3 separate regions of the Homo sapiens genome follow, and all the other regions are linked to region 1. Evidence: promoter capture Hi-C in 16 types of primary human blood cells and fetal thymus (Javierre and others, 2016). All regions are on one chromosome and are shown on one strand. The core of a region is centred on a gene start or on the middle of the fragment in contact, and the rest is flanking DNA. Distances in the headings are between cores, read along the strand shown.

Region 1 (4,707 bases), core at 807-3,306:
GGTCAACAGTAGGATATTAAGGATATTAATAGTTAAATTATTGAAAAATAAAAAAATTGTATGTTAATTTTTCAACTGTGGTGGTGTCAGCACCCCGGACGCCATGTTGTTCAAGAGTTGAATGTATAATGTGTGTGTGTGAGAGAGTGTGTGTCTGTAAAATCTAATTTAACACTCAAAACAACCTATGAGGTAAATATTATTTCTGTCATAAGGATGAAGACACTAAAGTATCAGATGTTAACCTAAATACTAAAAGACACACAGTCAACATTTTTTAGAAGAAAGATTCTAAATGGGATCTACTCAATGCCCATGCTCTTAACTACTAGATTACATTGCCTCCCAAACAGATATAGGAGTAAAATATTAGAGATTATGCAATATCATTTATTAGTCACTTAATATGTCTTGTAGATGCTAGTTTTAGAATGTACTAAAATAAACCTGCCAAGCAGTAAACTAGTGGGACAGTCTACTGCCTTCCCCCAGGTCTTCATACATATGTCCTTAAACTCAATAAGCAAACTGCAGCTATTTGGACAGTTGTGCATGGACAATACAGTTTACAATCTAATGTCAGCAACTCATAGCATTAACTCTTGGTTTGTAAATAATAATAACAATCACAATAATATTATTAAATGCACTGTGCTTTAGAGCAGACTTTTATGTATATGATTCCAATTATGTGAACTCTATTGTGGCTAACAACAGGCCCTATTGGACTGGGATGAAACTCAGTCTCTGGGATGGTCTCTGTTGTTTGCCAACTATTCTAGTTCTTCATCCAACCTTCAGGTCAGGGAACAGGTCAGGACAAGGTAAGACTGTGTATTAATCTGTTTTCAAGCTGCTGATAAAGACATACCCAAGATTGGGTAATTTATAAAGAAAAAGAAGTTTAATGGGCTCACAGTTCCACATGGCTGAAGAGGCCTCACAATCATGGCAGAAAGTGAATGGCATGTCTTACATGGCAGCAGGCAAGAGAGAATGAGAGCCAAGTGCAAGGGGAAACCCCTTATAAAACCATCAGATCTTGTGAGACTTATTCACTTCCATGAGAACAGTATGGGGGAAACTGCCTCCATGATTCAATTATCTCCCACCAGGTCCCTCCCACAACATATGGGAATTATGGGAGCTACAATTCAAGATGGGATTTGGGTGGAGACACAGCTAAACCACATCAGATTGATTGCACTCACTCCATACATAACAAAGCATGTGATGGCCACGAGACCATGAGGGGAAGTGACAGCAGTATTGCTCTGGGCTGGAAGTTTTAATTGCTAAAATGAGAACTCCTTGAGAACGAACTCAACTTCACTTCACCTTGACTACAGTGTTCCAAATAGTGATGACTCTGCCCACTTGGCATCCACAGTGAAGGCAATGTAGCATGAACAGCTGACTACCATACAAGTGTAGCTTGAGTAAGAAACAAAGTTTTGTTTTAATTCACAGAAATCTTGTGGTTACATGTTATCACGACATAACCAAGCCTTTTGGATTGATAAAGGCTCACAGCATATAACGACTTATCCAAGATTATACAGGTAGAAAATATCAGAAGTATTATGTTAGTGCTTTTCTCCATACCTCATAAATGCTAATGTCAGTGTTCCTTCCATTAGGTCCCAGTTTGCTTCATTGGTTCATTGCCTCAAAAATAAACAATATTTCCCCAGGTGCCAAGATATAAACGTAGGTGTAATCAGTCTAATCGGGGTTTAATAGATTCCAGTTTCGTAAAATAAAGGAGGTTTGAGATTTTCACTTATTTCATAACTAAGTCAAGAAGCTCATACTTAGTCTCTTCTAGTTCATGAAGTTTAGAATTCTTAACAGTCCCACCTTTGGGGAAGATAGAAAATACTTCTTACCTCAAATAATCAAATCATTGGTCAGATAAGAAGTGGCAGTTCAGTAACAAGGACTGTAACACAGCCCAGGGTGTGGCACCGTGCTTTGAGATCCTCTGGATGACCTCACAGGAAAGGCGGAGAAACCAAGCCTTGCATATATATAAACATGACCCCTTACCTGGGATATGGTCGATGCAGCTGTAGTGACAATCTCAGAGCAGCTTCTACACCACAGCCATTTCCAGCATGAAGATCACTGGGGGTCTCCTTCTGCTCTGTACAGTGGTCTATTTCTGTAGCAGCTCAGGTAAGTTAAGGTCAGACAGTGCCCTATATAGCCATTAAGATTGTTTTCATAAATAATCCCTCCTGCGATGTGAGCATCTCAGAAACATCTGGTTGTAAGAATTTAAAGTGTACTGGTTTGTAATAGGATCTTATGTTCCATCTGGAGTTTGAGAGACTTGAGTCCAATGTCTTCACTTTCAAGGATTCTTATTTGCATCCATAGAACAAAAAATGATCTAATTTCTCTGTAAGTCTTCCATTTCTATGTTCATATGGACACTGGAAGTTGTCAGTGTTATTAGATATACCATTTCTTAGTGCAAAGATACAGAAAAACTTGGATGTCTTCCCAAATCAGTTTGGGGGGATTAAAATAAAACACAAGTCTCAAAAAGCCAAGGGTCAACAATTAGACTTTTATACTGTGAAAAATTAATTAAAGTGTTTCCAACCACATAAAGACATTCAATTGCATTTCTTTATGTCAATTGGGAAGGAAAGGATATCAGAGATGATCCTTCAGGCTCTTAGGAGTGATGATTTTAATACTTCTTATTGCTACTTGACTTTGGCCATTATCAAAAACACTATGAGGTTCAGAAAACATTCCATGATCAATAAATAGAGGAAATTTTTATAATTCTCTTACCTAAACCAAGGGTTAACCTAACCCATTGGCCATTCAACTTCCTCAGCAAACAACTAGGATTTTGCATAAGGATGGAGAGTGTGCTGAATCTCATTGCTAAAGGAAATGTAGAGTAATTATATAGGATGAAACTTATATTAATTAATGAGATTTAAAGTTTGCTTTACTTTTAACATCTTCATCTGTATCTCTTTTTCAGAAGCTGCTAGTCTGTCTCCAAAAAAAGTAAGTATGTTGAATAACATTTTAATGTCAATAACTATTGACTGTCATTTAGTCAACATATATGTAGGATAAATTATGTTTAGGGGGATTCGAGAGGGAGGCAAACACACATGGAGAAATGGTACCTGTTCTCCAGAAGGCAACTAAACAAATATGACATACATATAAACAACCATATTTTAAAAATGTTTTTTAAAAATGCCAGAGTTAAAGAAGGGAGAACCGCCTTCCAGCTGAGAAGTTGGTGATGTTTTCATAAAAGGCATAACGTGTAAAAGGCAGAGCAAAAGTACCCTGATAAATTGCACAGGCTCTAGATTCAAATCCTAACTCTACTACTTACCAGCATTTATCTTCAACAAGTTATCTCTATTTCTAAGCTTTAATTTTCACATTTGTAAAGAGAGGTAATAGTAGAATTTACTCTAGTTGTTCTGAAGATTAAACAAGAAAATTCATGCAAGATTTAAGTTTAACGCCTAGCCCAGAAATGCCCAGCAATTGTTAACTGAGTGTAGCAGAAAAAAATAGAATACCAGTAGTGCTAGTATTTGTCATAGTGATAACACTAGTACTTAAAGAAGTGGCCAAGCAACATCTGAATATCTGAGCTGGGACTTCCAGCCCTTGTAGTATATCTAATAGTGGCCTAGCTTGGGGTCTGGGAGAAAAACAGGACATTTGCTTGTATATGACACAGGTGGACTGCAGCATTTACAAGAAGTATCCAGTGGTGGCCATCCCCTGCCCCATCACATACCTACCAGTTTGTGGTTCTGACTACATCACCTATGGGAATGAATGTCACTTGTGTACCGAGAGCTTGTGAGTACCTCATAAGAAGAAAATGAGATCTGGAGTCAGTGCTCTCTACTACAAACGCTTCTACTTTCCAGGATCCAGCTTAAATCTCTATAAGCTGTAATTTATAATTATTCCCACCCAGAACAGCAGGTGGGGATAGAAAACTGACTGTTGCACAATCAGACAGGGTAGAGTCACCTGCTCTGCCAGCTTGGACTAGTCCCATCCCATCACAGAACCTCCAGTTCCTGTCTGTCAATTGTGAGAATCCAGTAAGGCTGTGGATTCTCAAACTGCTGTCCCCAGAGCACAGAGGTTCTATAGAGGCAAGTCAGGAGTCACCATTAGGGTTAAAGGGACTATTTGGGGTAGTTGACAACATAAAGTTCAGCTTTGACTATTTTAAGTAGTGGAGTGCCATACAATATCATGCTTGAAGAAAGGGCCCTGAATCCCCACCCCCCATAAAATAATTGAAAACTACTACACTACCTGACTTAGATTCTAAGATAATTAACATCCTCACTGCAGCTTGATTCTTAGACAAAGTGTCCCTAGAGGTTCTTTATCTTCGAATTTCTAGAGGCTCTAAGTATCTGTAGCTTTAAGGGGGGAATAAGGCTACAAAAATGATTACTTTTCCTTTATCTAAAATAAGGGATGCAAGCTGTCAGTATTTGGACCAGAATACCACGGACATGTTTTGTTTAGGTATTTTCTTTGGCCCACAAAATGTTTTTGCAGAAATGTAGCTAGGCAGATGTCACTTCTTTGGTACAAGACATGCAAATTACACTTAACTGTCTCATAGCAAGTCTGCTGTGATCATCGTTAACTCTTTTAGGCCACTGGATTTTGGACACTTAGATC
Region 2 (5,012 bases), core at 2,181-4,680, 390 kb after region 1:
CTCAAATGCCACAGAGGAGTATGCACTTCTGTAGGTAACGGGGAGTTAGAAACTTTCAAGCAAGGAAATGGCACACATTGGTCTGCCCTTTGGAAAGATGTTTTTAGCTGGTTTAGGAAGAGGTAATAAAGTGACTGAAAGCTAGAGGTGATGCCCAAACCCATGGTTCAAGCAATACATAATAGAAGTTCAAACCAGGGAAGTCCCAGTGGGACGAAGAGGGCTGGGTAGATCCAGGGAGATAAAATCAATAGGATTTACTGACATTACGGTAGGTAAGAGAAAGAGAAGGGTCAAAAACAACCTCCATGTTTGTGGCTTTTTGTAATAGCAGAGAGATAATATAAATACAGACACCTGGGAATGAAGTTCTAATGCAGGGGGAGGAGTACTCTTGAGGGTGAGAATGGGCAATAAGGAGTTCCATTCAGCAAAGTTGAGGCTGGCATGTTTACTTGGTATCCACCATTTCAAGTATAAAGGGAACAAAAAGAATAACCCCTCACAGCAGTCAGGACTATGGTAGGAAAAGCATTAATGTCAAAGCATGAGCTTATATGAGAGATGTTGCTGAGATATAAAGAAACATAGGGAACTCTCCACAATTTTAGTCCCCAGGGTCACAAAACTCATTTTTACCCCAACTTGTTTCTTATACTCAGCAAAGAAGCTGACAGTGAAATCCATTAGCTTAGTCCAGAGGGACTCCCAGGGCTACTAAACTTCATCTCCTTACAGATATTCCAACGATGCCAGGGACAAAGGCTTCCCCTTCTGAAAGGAAACCTAAGAGCCAGCTTTCTCCCTCTGCCTTCCAGATGGCATTACACATGTCGATTAGAAATGTTCAGGAAGTGCTTTCTCTTTGCAACCAAGAGAAACATTTTCCTTCTTTGGAGCTTGCTCCCACTTTCTTTCCTTCCTTAAATGGAATCTGATGTGTTTTTTCCCAAATTATCCATGACTGATCCCTTGCACTGTTTGTGCTCTTGGTAGATACTCTGCAGTAGGAAGATAAGGATGGGGCTGAGTGACGTATATTTCTCTACTGGTTTCCTTAGCAATGCCTCAGCAAGCCTCCAGCTCCCCTACAAACCTCCTTCTGAGTCAGCCTGTTTCGGCTATAGTCCAGGCTCTGCCAGCACATCACTGTTAAAACAGTAATAACTTTTTTTCCTCCACGGCACTTTACAATGTATGACAATCTTTCGCAGTCTTTATTTCATTTTATTTTTATAGCATGATCTCACAGAGAAGATATTATCAATATCAGCATTTTATAGGTAAATAAATTGAAACTCACAAACGTTTAATAACTTGCCTAAATTTCATAGCAATAAGTCAATGGTCAGAAAAAGGAGCTCATGGAGTTTGTTCCTCTGGCAATAGTGGCCACTGAGTCACAACGAGACTTTCCCATATGCTCTGAAGACTTCAGTTAGGGGTTACTCCATCCAATGATGAAATAGGGGGAAGATCTTCCTGGTAAATTAAGATATGCTTAAGATTTATTGACATAAAGTTCAGTTCATGAACAGTGATAATAAAAATATTCTTAATTCAGCCACTAGCTTCTCCCAGGGAGCATTAGTGGTTAAAATACAATAGTTTTTATAGTGTCTATCATATAATAGTTGTACTATGAATTCATCACAGGTGTGCCCTACGATCGACCAATGTATAAAATTCATTTTGTCTTAACCGTTGATACATACAACTGTTCCACGGTGTTCACTATAAAACACTTATGGCAAAGTTTGTTAGGTATAGCACTGAGTTGAGTGGATCATCAAAATGCTGTAGAGTTGGTATAATTTATTTTGAATAATTGATATAGATTAATATCAAGCTGGCATCTAAGAAAGAGTACACATCTCCTGCACATGGCCATATGTATGTATGTATAACAGGGGTTGCACAGGGCAGTCAGAGCTTTCCTCAAGGAGCCCCACAGTGCTGATGGATTATACATTTTTATAGCATACAACTATAGATGTTTCTATAGAATCTTCAAGATACCTGTGTATGAGATTAGTATTTGCATTGTAATTATCTTTTCCTGTTCTTGAATCTCTTACTGTCTTGAGGGGAACTCTAAATTTCTAGTGTATGAATGTGAACTACGCACAGAAAGAACCTGAGATATCTTGTTCTAATTTCTATTTCTGACAAAATAAAAATTAATATTTAAGATATTTGATTTCAAAAAGTTTTTTAAAGGCTACTGAAAAAGAATTAAAAGGGCATAGAGTTAGACTGTCCATCTAAATTTAAGACTCTATCTGTAAGAAGATATTTCATCTACCCCACTTGACCCATTGACACAAGGCAGTCTGACTTTTCTATCGCACACTACTCTATTTCTAAAAATATTATTCTAGAGTCTTATTTAGGATTAGTATAAGTGGACTTCAGTTCACAGAGTCCCCCTTTCTTTTGTGGGCAGAAGATCACAAGCTTCTACGTGTATCAGTCCATCCAATACCTCCTGAAGCTCCACATTCTTAGTATTTTCCTTTATATTAATTAATAGTCTGCCTTATTATAGCTTTCAGAAGACACAATTAAGCAAAAATGATTGAGAGAATCTTGGGTTTTGAAGCTAGATAGCTTAATTTAAATACCAGCTGTGCCACTTCCTGTTTCTGCAACTTTAGATGAATTACTTAACGCTTTGGGGTGTCAGCATCCCAATCAATAAACAAGGGAGAAAAATAATAATAATACCCACCTCGTCTGACTGTGATAAGGATTCCTTGAAATAACACATATAATGTTCTTATGGCACAGTGTTTGTCACATAGCAGTTATATCATTAACTGTAACTACTATTGATATTCTATACACTAGTCTTATCAGACATGGTCTTATGGAGAAATGTGAAATAGATGAGTGAGCTCTTTCACATGTGAGCCTTTTCCTGTATTGGGAAACTGCTCTCAATGACATCCATGTGTTCTCTTAAGTTAACTAAGCACAAGTAATATTTTAAAGACGAGTGTATTAGTCTGTTTTCACGCTGCTGATAAAGACATACCCGAGACTGGGAAGAAAGAGGTTTAACTGGACTTACAGTTCCACATGGCTGGAGAGGCCTCAGAAAGGCATTTCTTACATCGTGGCAGCAAGAGAAAAATGAGGAGAAAGCAAAAGCGGAAACCCCTGATAAACCCAACAGATTTCATGAGACTTATTCACTACCGTGAAAATAGCATGGGAAAGACTGGCCCCTATGACTCAATTACCTCCCCCTGGGTCCCTCCCACAATACATGGGAATTCTGGGAGATACAATTCAAGTTGAGATTGGGTGGGGACACAGCCAAACCATATCAACAAGACAATCCACTCCTGTCCCCACAAAGTTAATTAAAAGGTAACAATGCCCACCGCTTATACAAGTGATAAGATTTGGGCTCTAAATAAGTCTGTAAGAGACTTACAAAAGGTGGCATAGCATAGCAGTGGAGCAAATAGCCAGCTAGGATTCCTAAGAAATAGATTTTACTTGTTCTGTGCTCTTGGGTAAGTCATTTGACTACTACAATATCTTCAATTGCAGAAAGGAGGAAATGGGACAAATGTCACAACACTATTGTGACAATTAAGGAGATACACAAAAAATACTATGAGGAGGACAGTGTTCAGCACATATAGGCATTCGATTAGTATGGGTTGATTTTATTTCTAGGCCCCAGACATTCTGACACCCAATTAGTATTTTCACTTGAGATAGTTAGCTATAGCCTTTCAGATGATGGTTATGATGGCTTCTTCGACTAGTCCCTCTGCTTCCAGTCCATCCCTGAAGATCACATGCTCAGAAGTTAAGAGAAGGATATTAAAAGAATAATAATTATATGTCAAAATCTATAGGAAATGGTTAAAACAATATTTGGAAAAAAATTTAGAGCTTTACTTGTCTTTATTCTTAATAAAATAAAAGAACATTCACTATGTTCCCACATCATATAAGATAAGAAAATTAGTTTTTGAAAAACTACAGAAGAATTGGAAACTATAAACATGATAAAATAAACAAGGTGATTACATAACAGAGAAAACTAAAACAAGTAATTAATATAACCAAAGATTACTACTTGAAAAAGACTAAGAAATGTCCAAAAAACAGCAAAATCTAATTTAAAAAACTAATAAAAATATAAATAAGACAGAAAATAGAGCAACAGGATAATAGAAAAATTGTACGAAGAAACATTTGGCACAGTTAAATGCTAATATATTTTAAATTCTGTGTGAAATATATTATTTTCTCAAAGCAAGGGAATTAACATTTACTAGCTACTGACTTTGTCTCAGTGCTGAGTGCTTTATACACATCCTTTTTTTGTTGGTATAATAAGCCATTTTATAAATATTTTTCCTCCTTTTATAGCAGAAACTGAAGCTTACAGAGATGAAGGTGTATGTCCAAGGTCACCCAGCTACTAAGAGGTGCAGCTGGAATTTAAATTCAGATCTACAAGGCCTATGCTATTTTTATTTTTCCAAGTGAAAACCCTAAAAATATAAAACATCAGAATGGTCATAAAAGGAAGAGGAAATTTGAATATACAGCACTAAAAAGTGTTCATACACCATTATTAAAATAAGACTTGAACATTCTTGTTTAGATCAAAATTTCTCCAAACTTTCAAATAGCAAAAAGTAACCTAACTACCCATTTCATTTCTTGAAAGAGAAAATAATAGCAAATTTCCTACTACGAAAGAAAAAAGTGGTCTTAATCCTAATTGTTATTAAAGTATGAACACACACACAACTATAGTGAGCTTTCCTCTTATAGATACAAAGATTTTAATAAAAATAAAAAATTGAATAAAGCAATCAAATAAAACTTATTCCATGCTACAAGAATACGGCATGCTGTAAGAATACAATATATTCTATTTCTTTCTAAAAGGAAAACATACTCTGTTTAATCTTTCTATTTCGAAAGCTTATTCATGACAAAATCACATCAACAAAAGCAATAAGTCACTTGAAAGAATC
Region 3 (4,922 bases), core at 1,221-3,720, 410 kb after region 1:
TCCTTACCTGACTCATTTGACCAACAAATTTAACATAGGTAAAGATCATATTGGAAATTTACTATTACTTTTGGACAATCACCATCTTTAAAATAATTAATAGGTCTCAAATTTGAAAAGCCACATCAATTGGAGAAAAAAAATTAGAAAATGGCATATTTCATCTAGAAAAACAGGCATTCTCATACAATGCAGTATGGAATATATATTGTACAAACTTCCTTAAGGTCAGTTTGGCAGTACTGTATCACTCAAAGCAAAAGCCTTTAAATGTGCTCATAGATTCACCCAGTAATTCCACATCTAGGAATTTATCTCATGCAAATAACCATGGATGAGTGGGAAAAAATAATAAAAATAAAAATAAACCACAAGGGTGTTCAATGAAACAAAAATTTAAACAATCTAAATATTCAAAACAATGGGATTTGTCAAGTAAACCAAGAAATATGCATTCAACAAAGTACTATATGCTATTAAAAAAGAACTTTACGCCTGGATAGTTAATTACATAGAAAGATTTTTAAAAATTGTTCTGGCAAATGTGAGTTAGTAAATGGTATATGCAATATGTTTCCTTTTATATATATGCAATAATAGAAGATTTGGGTTTTTTAAATTTTTGTTTATGTTTATACTCAAATTTTCTACATCAAATGTATATGACTTTAGATGTGTATGAATTTCATACTAAGAAAATAAACAATAAAATTTTCTTTTTTAATGAGTCACCCTCCTAAAGCCAAGTGAAACAGATGAGATTACCAACTGCAGAAGTAATTAGCTCTAAGAATATGTTGCTGATTAGACTAGGATGTCTCTCACATATGATAGAAGAGATTAAAATACAACCTAAGCAATCTATGATATGTAGTTTTGTGATAGCCCAACAAAACTGGTCTAGAAAAGTGGAAAATTCTGATTTAAAATGATCAGTATGACTTTCACCCTTGTCAGAGAGTGAGGCAGAATTTTACTTAGGCAAAAGATGGCCAAATATCCAAATGTTCCACTTTGGTGTTTAACAATACCAGGTTCCTTTTATTTTAATCCTGTACTGACCAAGCTATCTTCTGTCTGGATTTTTCTCTTTCATCAATAAGCAAAACCTCACGTCATGACACATGTTATTTGTCCTGACTGGTAGAATTCCTACTGAACCTGTCAAGGAAAGAATTCTGGTCTACAAGCCAGTTTTTGGGGAAATGTAATCAGTGTCATTATGTTTGTCAAGCTCATTTTCAATTAAGAATGAGGTAATCTCATCAAGTAGGGGACAGCCAACTGGCTTCTTTCTCTTTATTAACATTTCCACTTTCTTCTATACTTATAAAATTTCCAGTGAAACTAGATATGTTGGCCAACGGTTGTAAAATTTCATTCTTGAGATCTTTAAAACCCATGGGTAGGTATTGCCTCTACTCAGTAATTTCATTAAAATGTTTGATTTAGTACTACAGAAAGGAAAATTAGACATGTGACTTTTCCATATTCTAACCATACTTCTACCTAGTATTTCAGTGATAAATCTCCTTTACTAATGCCACAGTGCCTGGGCACATATTGCACAGCCACATTATTGTGCCTTTATTCAGACTCTTCCTTAAGTCTTGAACCCTTCTCCTACCACATGTTAAAATCCTTCTCAACTACCAACTCCCAGATGGAAAAATAAGTTCTCTGGCCCATACCACTAAACCCTAGAACTCTGGATCATATTAAGTAAGAATGTAAACTCAATACAAGCCTGTAGTTTATTTTGTTTATTTCTGTACATATATTGCTTATTTAAAAGTGTTTTTGTGTTAGTAGGAAATGCAAATTGCAAGAATTAGTGTAATTGTCTTATTTCTAGTTTCTCTCCTCACTAGACTGAATGCTTATTGGAAACAGACAAGAACAGTGTTCATCAGAATCTCTGATGGTATTGCACAACATGCATGTTTAGCTTTTTATGCTGATAGTTTTCAAACATATAACTAGTAGAGATAATGGCTGCAGCTCAAATAACTCAGTTTCTATTTTAACTGGCTTTTTCATATTCAACAACAAAAATTTTGAGCAATTCAAAAATGCACTTATGCATGAACCAAAGATAGAGTGATCTCATGATATAAAATCAAATTTCTATCCTGAGTGTTACATCCCTCACTTAAAAGCTAAAAACTTTCAATGTTTTCAAGTCCAGGTCCTAATTTAATAGATAGAGTCAATTAAACCTCTCAAAATGTCACTTGGAGAATGGAATTCGCAAGATAACACTTCTTGCTGAAGCATAATACATCAGTATCAGAAATATAACTTGCACTAGTATTCAACATTTGTTTAAAAAATGCCATATTCTGAGGCTTTTCATTATGATAGCTGAGCTCGCTGCATTTTTTCCCCAAGAAAAGTAAAAAACGTGACAGAGAGAAGCACCCAGACTGTGCCAGGACATACTTACTCAAGAATGTCTTCTAAAAGAAAAGTGAAATGAATAGAAAAGTAAGTCTATGCCTCCAGATACCCCTACATCATGAAACCACAAAGCAATTCTGGCTCAAGACCACTCGTGAAGTATTTTGACATTTGCTCCTTCTCCGGAAAACAGAAAAGTATTTTTGAAGTTATAATACACTTCTGCAGTTCAACAAGGAATAACAGAATCTCATAGTTGAAAATATCATGAACAATTTGACCTGGGGCCAGGAAGATAGGAAATGTAAGGCAGGAATGGCCAATAAAGAGAAGCATCCTAGGCCCGGTGAGGAGTTGGTCCCCCAGAATTGGGCAGAAGGCTTGCAGCTAATTCAATCCAGCCTTGGCAGGCTCAGATAGCCAAGGACAGCATGAGCGTGTGCACAGCAGCTATTCTGCGTCATGAGAATGGTAGCATCACAGTCTCAAGTTGCTCTATTAAGTTTGAAGCACAACTCCAGTAGGATCAAATAAGCCAAATGTATGAGGAATCAGGGTCACAGACAGATTAGAACTCACTGCCAGGCTCCGTATCTGGTAGAGTTGCAGTAACAAGCTCAGAAAAGCAAGGCACAAATGAAGTCCTGATGACTTGAAATTCATGACCCACGTGAACAAGAAATGCCCATTGACATTATTCACTTTGGCACAAGGTAGCAAAACCACTTACAGCCCACACAGCTGGTGAGGATGGAGTTCCTGTTACACTGAGAGGCTAGAACTGAGGCAGGTATTGGGAATAGATGTAGTTGTGAGCAAGTCCTAAAATCAGGGAAACCCAGAGTAATAATAGCTAACATCTACTGAGGGTCTACTATGTGCCAGACTTTGCACTGGATCTTTATATGAATTATCTTTTACTATTATCATTACCACCACTAACTATGAAGCATTTACTGAACATATGTTATGTGCCAAGTATTTTTCTATGTATTTTATCTGCATTATCTAATTTAGTCCTTACAACAACTGTATGTGCTAAATATTTCGTATTTCAATTCTTACATAAAGAAATTCTGAAAAATAACTGACTAACTTGTCCCTGATTCAATACCTTGCTCCCAGGTCACACAGATGAACAAGTGACAGAGCTGGGATTTTAATCCAGGCATCCTGAATCTGGAGTCCCAATCACTGCCTCATGATCTCATTGAACCCCTAGGAGTAGCTCTTGCTATATGCAATTTACAGTTGATGAAATAGACTCATTGAGGCTGCATGATTTGCCAAGGACATCAAGAACCTTCTGGTGTCCTCATTTAATCAACCCAGAAGGATCTTGCCTTGGATCACCCATTAAGAAAGTGCCAAGGGCACAGTGAATTTGTGTGTTCCCATCTCAAAGGTAAGGATGGGCTACTTACACTAAACGGTTTCCTCATCTGCTGCACAAGTCTCTCAGTTTTTGCCTCTGGTTACCTCTTTCATTTTCTGGCCATCTCATAAAATCTAGAATACAACTTTTTTCTGTCATTCTTCCTTTCTTCTCTCTCTTCATTCCTAGCAAGTGAATCTCACCACATATAAATCTTAATCCAGAGAGATACTCCCTGAAACTCAGTGAAGTCAGCCTGGGAGGTTTCAGGAAGACAGTAAGGGCAAATGAATCTCTAAATTACTTGTATTAATCAAATTCCTCCTAAATTTCCTCACTTCATTGTTTTCCCACATGACCACACCGGCTTAGAGCCAGATCCTTTCCTTAGCACAATTCGTGACACCTGATAGTCTTAAGAGTTGCTTGATCTAAGACAATAAGTTACTGCTCTGCTGTAGAAAACCGGGTAGCATTTAACTGGTGGAAAGAAAAAGGGGTGGGCAGTAGTGAGCCGGAACTATTTATGAAGCTCCAAATTGGACTTGACATGGCTGGAAGAAGGCAGGAAGAAAAGAGGGCAGAAAGCACAGGAAGAAGAGTCACCATAGTTTTCATGTGAATAAATATTAGAGCAGCTCGCTAAGGACACAGGTGATTACTTCCGTCATTTCTCAGCATATAGACCAGCAGGTGCAGATAAGGAGCATGTCCCTGTGGGAGGCTCAAGGTGCTGCAGTGGAAGTACTAGCATTTTGCAAATAGCCCGGAGTATGCAGGATGCTGGGCATGCATCACCTCATGTCGTTCTCACAAGAGCACTGCCAAAGTGGCTCCTAAATAAAAATGACACAAACGGCTATACACTGAGAAGTAACTTTCCTGTCTTTGTCCCTGTCTAACGCCATTCCCGTGCTTAACCTTTAATGGGAGCCATTTGATTTGTCCCTCATTTATCCCTCTGATTTTTTTTTTTTTTTTTGAGACAGAGTTTCACTCTTGTTGCCCAGGTTAGAGTGCGATGGCATGATCTTGGCTCACCACAACCTCCGCCCCCGAGGTTCAAGTGATTCTCCTGCCTCAGCCTCCCGAGTAGCTGGGACTACAGGCATAAGCCACCACGCCCAGCTAATTTTTGTATTTTTAG

The links. Contacts are between HindIII fragments. The CHiCAGO score rates a contact against its expected background, and 5 or more counts as called.
Region 2: a contact is called between a fragment that was not itself captured here and the fragment with the promoter of SPINK7 in region 1, in 2 of 17 cell types (M0 macrophages and M2 macrophages). The highest score is 5.2, in M0 macrophages.
Region 3: a contact is called between a fragment that was not itself captured here and the fragment with the promoter of SPINK7 in region 1, in 3 of 17 cell types (M2 macrophages, endothelial precursors and M0 macrophages). The highest score is 5.9, in M2 macrophages.

What each region holds. Positions count from the first base shown.
Region 1 is chr5:148,310,367-148,315,073 of GRCh38, forward strand. SPINK7 (serine peptidase inhibitor Kazal type 7) reads left to right here and starts at 2,057. Exons shown (of 4, transcript NM_032566.3): 1 at 2,057-2,178; 2 at 3,008-3,033; 3 at 3,734-3,858. The coding sequence starts at 2,118. All of the region lies in intron 2 of FBXO38-DT (FBXO38 divergent transcript), which reads right to left. The HindIII fragment of the contact is 4,809 bases long and covers 1-3,411 here.
Region 2 is chr5:148,696,592-148,701,603 of GRCh38, forward strand. No RefSeq gene overlaps it. Among named protein-coding and RNA genes, the nearest start is that of HTR4, 45 kb to the left of the region's middle. The HindIII fragment of the contact is 1,950 bases long and covers 2,456-4,405 here.
Region 3 is chr5:148,721,416-148,726,337 of GRCh38, forward strand. No RefSeq gene overlaps it. Among named protein-coding and RNA genes, the nearest start is that of HTR4, 69 kb to the left of the region's middle. The HindIII fragment of the contact is 5,848 bases long and covers 1-4,922 here.